Regions from separate parts of the Homo sapiens genome. Here region 1 is linked to region 2. The links are contacts of gene promoters, found by promoter capture Hi-C in human tissues and cell types (Jung and others, 2019). All regions are on one chromosome and are shown on one strand. The core of a region is centred on a gene start or on the middle of the fragment in contact, and the rest is flanking DNA. Distances in the headings are between cores, read along the strand shown.

Region 1 (6,101 bases), core at 287-2,786, 38 kb after region 2:
TTCCATGAGCAGTTAACAAATGTGCTTTCAAAGACAACGAAGTTAAATTGTTTTAATGAAAAGAAAATATAGGTGATAGAAATCAGAAAACATCTTTCCAAGTTGTTTCAGTTTTTGGCTTTTTAAAAAACACCAGAATATCAAAATGCAATCAAAGATTACACACTGCATAAATTGTTACAAGTTATAATGTCTTTTTTTTTTTTTTTTGAGATGAAGTCTCGCTCTCTTGCCCAGGGTGGAGTACAGTGGCGTGATCTTGGCTCACTGCAATCTCTGCCTCCCAGGTTCAAACGATTCTCCTGCCTCAGCCTCCTGGGTAGCTGGGATTACAGGTGCCTGGCTAATTTTTGTATTTTTAGTGGAGATGGGGTTTCATCATGTTGGTCAGGCTGGTCTCGAACTCCTGACTTTAGGTGATCCACCTGCCTTGGCTTCCCAAAGTGCTGGGATTACAGGCGTGAGCCACTGTGCCTGGCCCCCAGATGTATTTTGTTATGGCCCACCTTTTTTACTCATGTGTGGCCCTTCAAGAGTCCTCTTTTATGTTTTTTTTTTAATTGTAATGTTTTTGTTTGTTTGTTTGTTTTTTGAGACAGTTTCAGTCTGTCGCCCAGGCTGGAGTGCAGTGGTCTGTTACCCAGGCTGGAGTGCAGTGATCTCGGCTCACTGCAGTCTCTACCTCTTGGGTTCAGGTGGTCCTCCCACCTCAGCCTCCTGAGTAGCTGGGACTACAGGTGCACACCACCACGCTTTGGCTAATTTTTGTAGTTTTCGTAGAGATGGGGTATCGCCATTTTGCCCAGGCTGGTCTTGAACTCCTGGGCTCAAGCAATCCACCTGCCTCGGCCTCCCAAAGTGCTGGGATTGCAGGCTTGAGCCACCGTGCCCAGTCCCGGTTTTATTCAGGGGTTTCTATCTTAAGTGCTATACCTTGCTGAGCTTTCCTGTATCTACAGTCTCTGAACTTTCAAGGCAAATAGTTTACTGCTCTGAATGTTATTATTTATTCAATTCTAGGTGTTTTGTAAGAGGAGAGGTTTTCAGTGGACCCAGTGTGCCATATTGCTAGAAGCATATGTCTTTCATTTTTTTTGGTGATATTGTATTGCTTTCCTCCCAGGAAATATGAGAAGTGCTCAGCACTGTGGTATTACCTTATAAGTTTGTCCACTCCCTTCCAATGTGTATGAAGGAATTTGGTGACTTCTGCTTAATGGTTTGCTGCAGGGTCCCAAAGTTTAGGCAACTTACCTGGGTGACAGGCAGAAATACTGCTTATTTTAGAGATGCAAATGCATGGTTCATATGCATTTCCACTCTTGAGGACCTCACACTGTTAATAATGGGTTTGGGTTTTAGAAGAAGGAGATATTCAGATGAGATTGAAAAATAGAGATTTCTTCAACCTTCTTTTGGCAACAACCTCTTTTTTGTGCCACTTGTCACTCACATGGGGTGAGTACAAAAAAAAATGGCTTTGGAGATTGGGGTTTGCATCCTGGTGCTGCTGCTTGCGGTTTTACCTTGGGTGTGTTGGTAACTTTTGAGTTTGTTTCTTAATCTATAAAATACAAACTAGATGATCAAGGTCATAGGCTAGTTGGGGAGATTCGATGAGGTCTATGCAGCACTCTGTAGTAGGTGTAGGAATAGTAGCCATATCATATACTTTCCCTCTGGAAGTCTTTAAATGGAGGAAACGAGACACACATGAAGCTTTTTTTTTTTAACCAAGTATTTATCATATTTTAATGGAAGTATGTTCATCTCTTCTGTATTAGTTAAAGGGAGGGAGAGTGCCATTGAATTGGATGTGGTCACTGTCTTTGAAGTTCAAAACTGAGGGTAGGGAATTGGGGCTGGCAGAGATACAAGGAAGAGAAAGGAGTAACTGGGAAGGGGTGGTCCTGTCCAGCCTGTGGCCCCACGGGGAGTCTGCTGTTAGAGTGCTGCTCCTCTCATTGTGCCCTTTCATGTTCCAGAGATTTTTTTCCTTTGCTCTTAGAAGAATACCAGTTTTCAAGGTGTCAGCCTTGAGCTCACAAGTGCAGATGCCTAATGAGGCAGGCAACGGGGATGAGGGAAGTGGCTGGGTGCACTGTGGCGTGTCTGCCTTGAGCCCCAGGTGCTCGGCCTTGCTGAAGGTCACCATGAGACTGCAGGCCAAACAGAACCAGGCTGTGAGCAACGAGTTTGCCACTTGTGATCTAGCATGGCACTTTAGTACTTTCATTTGACAGATGAGGAAATCGGGCACCTGAGATTTGCTGAGTGCCCAAGGTCACACTGAAAATTAGTGGCAGAACCAGCACTAATCTTTCTGTTCCTGGCTAGTGCATTTTATACTGTGCTATACACTGATTCTCTACCAGATTTTACTACCTCAAAACTATCACCAAAAGGGCATAGAAAAGAAAATCTGAGAGGAACCTTGACTGTTAATTTTAAGACACCGTCTCAGTTTCACTTTGTTCTTCAGTAACAAGCTTGTTTTCAGTCTTAGCCCATATACCTGGGGAGCTGGCCTTACTCGTGCTCCTGTTTCAGAGTTGAGGAAAGATGAAAATGGCATTTAGAGGCCATGGCATTGCCCAGTTCTGTACCAACTTTAAAGCATTTGCTTGCCATACTTGACATTTGACCGTACACCTGTGAAGTCTGGTTCTGTTTAGCATTTGCCAGCTGTAATTATCTTGTCAAAAATCAATTTGTAGTTTACCACAGGGCGTGTTTAAGTGTAACTTGTTAAGACCAACTCATAGCTTCAAAATCCTACTTGAGGTATCCTTCTTCACTCTTTGTGGGCTACATAACATAAAATGAACAATCCATTCATTCATTCCTTCATTATTTCTGATGGGTTGTAGATTGGTGTTTTCCTGTATTTGTAAAAAGAGAAAGCAGGTATCTCAAAGATCCAGTGGTGTATTCGGAGCAATTAGGTCAGAGCCATATATTGATATTGAGAGAACAATTTTGGATGACTGTAAAGTTGGCCCTTCCTATCTGTGGGTTCCACGTATGTGGATTCTGCCAACCACAAATCAAAAATACTCAGGAAAAAAACAATAAAAAATAAAAATACAATAACAAAAATAATACATACTTAAAAATACAATATAATAACTATTTACATAGCATTTATATTAGGTATTGTATGTAATCTAGAGATGATTTAAAGTAACAGGAGGATGTGCATAGGTTATATGCAAATACCCTGCCATTTTATACCAGGACTTGAACATCCATGGATTTTGGTATCCCTGTGGATACTGAAGAGTAGACTCTTCTAATTATGATAACATGATCTTTGGAGTCCTGCTGCCAGAGATTAAATCTGCGCTGCCATTTTCTAGATTATGGTACTTACGTTGCATTACTTAATGTCTCTCAGTTTCTCATGTGTAAAATGGGGAGAATACTAGTGTCTATTTCATAGGCTGGTTGTGAGGATCATGTGAGGCATTTGGAGTTGGGCCTGCACTGGGTAAGTCTGAGTGAATGATAACTTGTAATTATAGGGAAGATAAGAGATGCCATTTATGATTTAAATTGACTGTCCACAAAAGTCATCAAACATTTATTGTGTGAAACATGCTAAATGGTAGGACTAGATGTTCAGCTGTTCCTAGTTCCTGGTGGTTCTGTAGCATGTGTTTCTGAACTGTCATGTTTTCAGGACTGTGAACTGTGTTTCCGTTGCTTTCTTTTGTAGACAGCTCTGGCTCTGGCTATTGCTCAGGAGCTGGGTAGTAAGGTCCCCTTCTGCCCAATGGTGGGGAGTGAAGTTTACTCAACTGAGATCAAGAAGACAGAGGTGCTGATGGAGAACTTCCGCAGGGCCATTGGTAAGTAGTGTCACATTTGTGGGAGGAGTTGGTCTCACTTCCTGAAGCCTGTGCACCGAAGCCTCTTTGTGGTGAAGATGCCTTTATGACTGGTATTCGTGGCACTGCTGTTTTTCTTTTGGCACTTAGTAGTGCATTATTTTTCAAATAAAACAAAACCCCAGTTTTTCTCATTGAAGTGCGTTAGCAATTGGAGCAACTATGGACCCTAGCTGTGAGCCTGCGCTTCTTCATGCAATAAATAGATGTGTCTAAAAGTGTTTTTTTAATGAGTCATATTTTCCTGGAAGTCTTATTTTGCCATTAGAGATGACTATCCACTGAAAAGGTTTTGGACTCAAGCCAGAATCTTTGTGTGCCATGTGGCCAGAATGCCCCTGGTCCTGGATGGCGAGCCAGAAGAGTTGTGGCCTGTCATAGAGTGAGGAGACTGAGGAGTGGGGACTGGCAGAGCTTAGAGGCTTATGGCGCCTAACCCTTAGGGCCTCAGGCTATCATAGTGAGTGCCTGTGATGAGCCAGGCCTTCCCTCCTCTGAGGGGAGATTATCAATCTACATTTCGCATTTGAAGAAGCAGTCTCAGAAGGTTAAATAACTTGCTAGGGACCCAGTTAGTAAGTGGCAGAAGTAGTTTGATCCGACATCTTTCTCATTTCTAGAGCCGTTGCTGTGAAGATTGGCTGTGAGAAGAAAATGGCTTCTCTTTCGAATTTTTGCTTTTTGCTAGCTAGGACTTCTGGGGCAGTTTTTTGGCCCCATTTCTGCTGGCACAGCACTGGGCAAGTCCTAGTTTCCCTCAGATCTGCTTATAGAAATAGCTTATTTCTTTTAACTGTTACATAAAAGTCCAGTTATTAAGCCATTTCTGTTTTTTGAACATTTAGATTTATTCTCAGCTTTTACTCTTAAAAACAAGGCTACTAGGAATATCCTTTTATGTGTCTTTGTGCACATGTGCGAGTATGTTTCTAGGATTTGCCTGCTGAGTCGTGGGTTATGAACACTAGTCAGAGTGCCTGTACCAGTTTCCAGGCTCTTTCATTGTCAAACCAAAGTAAGTATTCTTAAGAAGGAAATTTACCAGAAAACTTCAAGGAAATGATGAAACTTAAAAGACTGATGAAAAAGTTCAGTTTCGGAGTAAGATCAGGTAGGGCCATGGTTAAAGCTTTTGATTTTACATTGAACAAAAGGAGAAGCAGTTAGAAAGTGCTGGTATCCCTGGGCTCTGGTTTTGCTTTTACCAGACCCCTCCGGCTGGGTTGGGAGTGGATAGTAAGGAGGGTGAGGGCAGAGAGGAGTCTGAGCAGGACAAAATAGTGGCTTGGACCAGGGTGGTGGCAGTGGAAGTGCAAAGTGGTTGGATTCTGGGTGTGTTTGCATGGTAGCGCTGACAGGATTTCCTAAAGGGTTAGATGTGGGGCTGAAAGAAAGAGAGGAGTCGAGGAAAATTCCCAGGTTTGGCCATTTTTGGAGATGGGGAAGAATGGGAGGGAGCAGGTTGGGTGTTTACTCAGCGTCTCCTGGGGATACAGTGGTCAGTGCTTATCTTTGTAGACACAGTTCCTGGCACATAGTGGGTGCTCAGGAAAGTTCTTCTGAGTGAGTGAGAGAAGTGGGTAGACTTTGAAGCAGTTAGAAAACAGAAGCCTTTTTTTTTTTTTTTTTGAGAGAGAGTCTCTGTCGCCAGGCTGGAGTGCAGTGGCGTGATCTCAGCTCACTGCAACCTCAGCCTCCTGGGTTCAAGCGATTCTCGTGCCTCAGCCTCCTGAATAGCTGGAATTACAGGCATGCATCACCACACCCAGCTAATTTTTGTATTTTTAGTAGAGATGGGGTTTCACCATGTTGGCCAGGATGGTCTTGATTTCCTGACCTCATGATTCACCTGCCTCGGCCTCCCAGAGTGCTGGGGTTACAGGCATGAGCCACCGTGCCTGGCTCATGCCTGTAATCCCAGAAGTCTTTAGCTAAAAAATATGAAAACAGAAGTCTTTAGCTAAAAAATATGTCTGGGCTATAGACATATGTTGTTTGGTTTATGAAGTATTTTTTATAAATTTGGAGCTAGTTGTCAATATTTAGCAATAGGGAAGTGTCATAAAGTGCTCATTTCTGCCTCCTTGAAGCAGCTTTCCTTCCCACAGCAGGCGGAGCTGAGCGGGTACTTCTGACCAGGTCCCCATAAGCATTGAAGTTTGTGACTGTTTTTCTAAACCAGAGAGATTATGAACTGTGTCCAGAGGCTAA
Region 2 (5,836 bases), core at 1,629-4,128:
TCACTAACTACCTGCCTCCCTAAGTCCCAATTTTCTCAACTATTAAATGGTAACCACCACGCTCCTTGCAGGGTTTGCCTGGTAAGCAGCAAATACACAAGAAAAGTCAAGCCAATAAATAGTTGTGTGGTTACCACTATCTTCCAGTTGGAGCAAGGTCCAGAATTAGGTTCAAACGTCATACAGCTAAGGAAGAAAGCAAGCTAGGCTTCAAGCCCAGTTTTGTCTGACTCCAAAAGTATGTCCTTCACCACTCATCTACCCTATTTACTAGACAACACTAAAAACTCGCCATCTCATTTTTTAACCTCTGCCTTCCACCTCCAGTCTGGACTGGCTCAGAGTCCATGTTCTAAAATGTACTTTGATGTGACCAAACAGAATTCAGTTATAAGGGGGCAGGGAGGAATGGGTAGAGAATTGTGTGCCCCTTGAAATTCACCTGACTGAAACATGGATTGAGGAGAAGACTTTAGATAGTGTGACCCTGAGCAAGTCCCTTCACTTCTTCAAACTTCTATTTCCTCTACTGTAAAATGGGGAAATGATCTCAGACTGCCTGTAACATGAAACAGTTGGGAGGTAACAAAGATGAAGTACTGTACTTAACAAGCTCACCATTATAGCTGGGACCCAGAATGCCCAGTGACCAATGAGGCCATCTGCCACCAAGCCAATTATCATCTGCCCAATATATATTCCCATGTGTGGCATACAGAATATTGCTGGAAGGAAACACAAGAAAATGGGAACAGAAAGGTAATCAGGTACTGGGGTCAGCAGTGAGAAGTATACTTCTTTAGCTATATACCCTTTTATACCATGTGTTTATATTATTGTATCATTTTTTCTAAAAACAAAACATGTTTTAAAACTCTATCCATATATTTAAGTGGAGTTAAATGGGTCTGGAAAAGTAATCCACAAAGGTATAATAATGGTCTTTTCAGCCAGGCACAGTGGCTCACACCTGTAATCCCAGCACTTTGGGAGGCCGAGGCATGGGGATCACGAGGTCGAGATCAAGACCATCCTGGCCAATATGGTGAAACCCCATGTCTACTAAAAATATAAAAATTAGCCAGGTGTGGTGATGTGCACCTGTAGTCCCAGCTACTTGGGAGGCTGAGGCAGGAGAATCGCTTGAACCGGGGAGAAAGAGGTTGCAGTGAGCCAAGATTGCACCACTGCACTCCAGCCTGGTAACAGAGCGAGACTCCATCTCAGAAAAAAACAAAAAAACAAAAAAACAAAAAACGGGTCTTTTCATTTGCAGAGATAGGAGGGGTACAGAATTTAGGACAGAGGAGTGGGTAAGGGAATGTTTGTCTTATTTGTGATGTTCTATTTCTTCACAAGTAGCATGTATTCATGTATTACATGTATAATTAAAAATTAATGGTACCTCTTTGTGGGGCATTTTGGCAGTACCCACCACGACCGAAAACACACATGCCCCTTGCCCCAGCCAGTTATTATCTATTATCCTACATATATGCGAACATACCAAAGAGTTCTGTTCTAGAATATTCACTGCAAAATGGTTTGTAAATACTGGAAACAGCATAAACGTCCATCATTAAAAGATTTGTTCAGAAAATGTTGGTACAGGCCGGACGTGGTGGCTCACGCCTGTAATCCCAGGACTTTGGGAGGCCAGGGCGGGCGGGTCATGAAGTCAGGAGTTTGAGACCAGCCTGACCAACATGGTGAAACCCGTCTCTACTGAAAATACAAAAAAATTAGCCGGGCGTGGTGGCGCGCGCCTGTAATCCCAGCTACTCAGGAGACTGAGGCAGGACAATCGCTTGAACCCAGGAGGCGGAAGTTGCAGTGAGCCGAGATCGTGCCACTGCACTCCAGGCTGGGCGACAGAACAAGACTCTGTCTCAAAAAGAAAAAAAAAAAAAGAAAAAGAAAATGTTGGTACAAGGGTGCAGTTGAATTCTATGTGAGCTTTAAAAAGAATGATGTAGCTTTGTGTACAGATATGGGGCACTCTCCAGACACAATGTTGAGTGAAATCGTGTCTAAAAGGATGAGGGAAAGAGGGATTTATACATACACACAGATATGCTTGTATTGACGTGGAGCCTTTCTGAAATGATATACAAAAACTGGTAGCAGCGGTTGGCTCTAGGAACGGGAATCAGACCAAATGACAGGTGAATGAAGACAGCCTTTGTATGTATACCCTTTTTGTAGCTTGTGAGTTTTCTTATTTTGAGTTTTCTTTACTTGACCATGTATTATAAACACATTTGGTAGGGATTTTTTGATTTTTTTTTTTTTTTTTTTTTAAGGAAGGCGCCTTGCAGCTCGGTTCTGCTGGATGGGAAAAGCTGAATCTCAAAGCCTCCGCTCACTTGCTGCGGAGCCCTAGGCAAGTCACGTCCGCCTCTTGGGGCGTCAGGAGCCCCACCAATGAGGTGGGGCGATTTCCCGTCCCGGCAAAGGCTCGAGCGAATTCGGACACGGGGCCCGGTCGCTCCGCCCGCGTCCCTGAGCCCGGCTCCCGCCCCGGCCCGCGCTCACCGCCGATGATGGTCCGGATGAGGGAGGCGTGCCCGGGGCAGTCGACCAGCGTGACCTGAAGCAGTGGCTCGCCGGGCTCGGGCTCGGCCTCGGGCGCTGCCTGGAACTCGGGCAAAGACGACCGCAGGCGCGCGGGCAGCGGCACCGAGAAGCACGAGAAGCCCAGATCGAGCGTGATGCCGCGCTCGCGGCTCTGCGGCTGCTTGTCAAAGGCGGCGGTGGAGGCTGTGGTGCTTAGCGCCCGCGCCAGCGCCGTCTTGCCGCTGTCGATGTGGCCCAGCACGCCCACGTTCACGTTCACCCGCCGCCCTGCCATGCCGCCGCCGCCGCCTCGGACACCCGCCCGGCCCGCCCCTCACCTCCCTCGGTAGTCGCCGCGGTCCGGCCCGTTAAGTTGCCCCCCCGTAACCGGCGCGCTGTGCACACCCGTTCCGGCCCGGAAGCTTCCGCCCTCCTGAGGCTCACGGGCACAGCCGAGCGCCGTGCTCCGAGTGGGTGGTCTAGGAACTGGAGGTCACCGTAGGCAGGGTTTCTCTCTCACGTGGCTCCTCCTGCCTGAAGCCTCTAGGAGCCCGAGATGGAGGGATCCTTCTGAGAAGTGAAGCCATTTGGACTTTCTGGGTGAGTGGAGACTTGGAGAACTTTTCTATAGCTATCAAGAGGATTGTAAAATGCACCAATCAGCGCTCTGTAAAACGCACCAATCAGTGCTCTGTAACATGCACCAATCAGCAGGATCCTAAAAGAAGCCAATCACAGGGAGGATTGAAAAAAGGGCGCTCTGATAGGACAAAAACGGAACATGGGGGGGCGAAGGGGGGCGGGGGGGGCGGGGTGGGCGGGGGGAAGACGGGGGCGGGGGGGGCGGGAAGACGGGGGCGGGGGGGAGGGCGGGGGGACGGCGGGGGGCGGGGGAGGGCGGGGGGACGTGGGGGAGGGGGCAAATAAGGGAATAAAAGCTGGCCACCCCCGCCAGCAGCAGCAACCCTCTCAGGTGCCCTTTCGCATTGCAGAAGCTTTTTGCTCTTCACAATAAATCTTGCTGCTGCTCACTCTTTGGGACTGTGCCATCTTTAAGAGCTTTAACACTCACTGCGAAGGTCCGCGGCTCCATTCTTGAAGTCAGCGAGACTAGGAACCCACTGGAAGAAACCAACTCCGGACACACTTCCAATCATTCATACATTTCAGCAAGATCTTACCAAGTGCCTGGTGGGTTCCGCTGGGCTACAGTGCCCGCTAATATTACATTCAGGGGGTGAGGGCTAAGTCAAACAATACAGCCTGAACCAGACCATTTCAGAGAGCGAGAAGTCTCCTAGGGAAAATAAAAGCTGAGATAAAAAGGAGCAGGAGAGGGAGGATGGACAGCTACCTAACTGTGGGTCAGGGAAGACATCTAGGAGTTGCTGTTTGAGTTGAAACTCCAGTGTTGAGAAGGAGCCAACCATGGGAAAAGATGGTTTGAAGATGGAAGAGGACAACATTATCTCTGACTCAGAAATTCTCACCCTGAGAGTCTGTAGCCTGGGCTTAGGAGAGGCCACAAACCTCTAAATTGAACGCACAATGTGTTGTGATGTGCTCTTGCTAGACAGAGGGTCGACAACTCTCACTAGATTCTGAAGTGTCTAGAACCACAAAAAAGGTTGTCAGCCATAGTCACCAACCAGAGGTAACAAACCTAAGTGTCTGCTCTGGCCAGGTGGTGGGTAAATCAAAGAAGAGAAGTTAAAAGAGTCTAAGATGACAGGGAGTGGTGGGGACCTGGGAGACCTGGAGAGCCCTTTTCCTGTGCAAAGAGGGAAGCCACTGCTCAGTCTCAGCCAGTGATACCAGGCAGGAATGCTAGCCCAACATTGCCTCCTCCTTCCATTTTTCTGGAGAAGAGAGTGTTTTTGTAACACTGTGGCGGTGGAGCACAAAGTTCACAGGATCTTACCTTTGCCCTCTGTGATGAGCCAGACCATGTGCGGATGTATTCATGCTTGCAGTAACTGCCTCCTTCGTTCCACCACTCTCCACTAGGAACAGAGTCCATGTCATAGACTGAATTGTGTCCCTCTCAAATTCATATGTGGACACCCTGACCCCCAGTGTGATAGTATTTGGAGATGGGACGTTTGGGAGGTTAGATGAGATCATGAGAGCGGGCCCTTGTGATGGGATTAGGGTCCTTACAAGAAGAGAACAGAATCTTTGTTTCCGTTTTCCCACCTTGCAAATAGGAAACTGTAAAAATACGCCTCCCATTAAAAAAAATCTAGTAGTAAAAGCAGTAAACGTATTTAAAAGGGAGGGTTAGTAAATAGGTAATAAGAGCTTTAGAGGCTTTATGTACCTCTGAGAAATATTTCAACTAACAAAGACTTTGTACAGGGCCTGGCTTCAAATAAACCTCATTTCTTACCTCTGTTTTAAACAGAATCCTGAAATGGTAATGAAAAGAAAAAAGGTTTGGCTGGGCACGGTGGTTCATGCCTGTAATCCCAGCACTTTGGGAGGCTGAGGCAGGCAGATCACTTGATATAGTTTATATATCTATATATAGAATATATATAGATTTTATATATAGATATATAGAGTATATATATATAGAATATATACAGTGTATATATAGAATATATAGAGTATATATAGAATGTATATAGAGTATATATAGAATATATATAGAATATATAGAATATATATAGAATATATATAGAATATATACAGAATATATATAGAATATATAGATATATAGAGAATATATAGAGAACATATAATATATATAGAATATATAGAATATAGAATATATATTATATATATAATATATAATATAATATATATAATATATATAGAATATATAATATATAATATATAGAATATATAATATATATAATATATAGAATATATTATATATATAATATAGAATATTATATTATATATATAGAATATATATATAGAATATATATATATAATATATAATATATAGAATATATATAGAATATATAATATATAGAATATATAATATATAGAATATATAATATATAGAATATATATAGAATATATAATATATAGAATATATAGAGAATATATAATATAGAATATATATAGAATATATAATATATAGAATATATATAGAATATATAATATATAGAATATATATAGAATATATGTATAGAATATGTATAGAATATATGTATAGAATATATACATAGAATATATATTCTATTAGTTCTGTCAAATATATATATTCTGTGGAATATATATATGGAATATACATATATACATATGGAACATACATATATACATATGGATG

The links. Contacts are between HindIII fragments. The study calls those that stand out against the background at their distance.
Region 1: a contact is called between a fragment that was not itself captured here and the fragment with the promoter of EEFSEC in region 2, in 2 of the 25 tissues and cell types used here (H1 embryonic stem cells and liver).

The regions. Positions count from the first base shown.
Region 1 is chr3:128,110,638-128,116,738 of GRCh38, reverse strand. It overlaps RUVBL1 (RuvB like AAA ATPase 1), which reads left to right. Exons shown (of 11, transcript NM_003707.3): 3 at 3,719-3,851. Among named protein-coding and RNA genes, the nearest start is that of RUVBL1, 10 kb to the left of the region's middle. The HindIII fragment of the contact is 4,437 bases long and covers 1-3,754 here.
Region 2 is chr3:128,150,523-128,156,358 of GRCh38, reverse strand. EEFSEC (eukaryotic elongation factor, selenocysteine-tRNA specific) reads right to left here and starts at 2,878. Exons shown (of 7, transcript NM_021937.5): 1 at 2,536-2,878. The coding sequence starts at 2,851. It also overlaps a transcript of RUVBL1 not described here. RefSeq lists a silencer at 2,368-2,887 and an enhancer at 3,018-3,247. The HindIII fragment of the contact is 4,118 bases long and covers 1-3,265 here.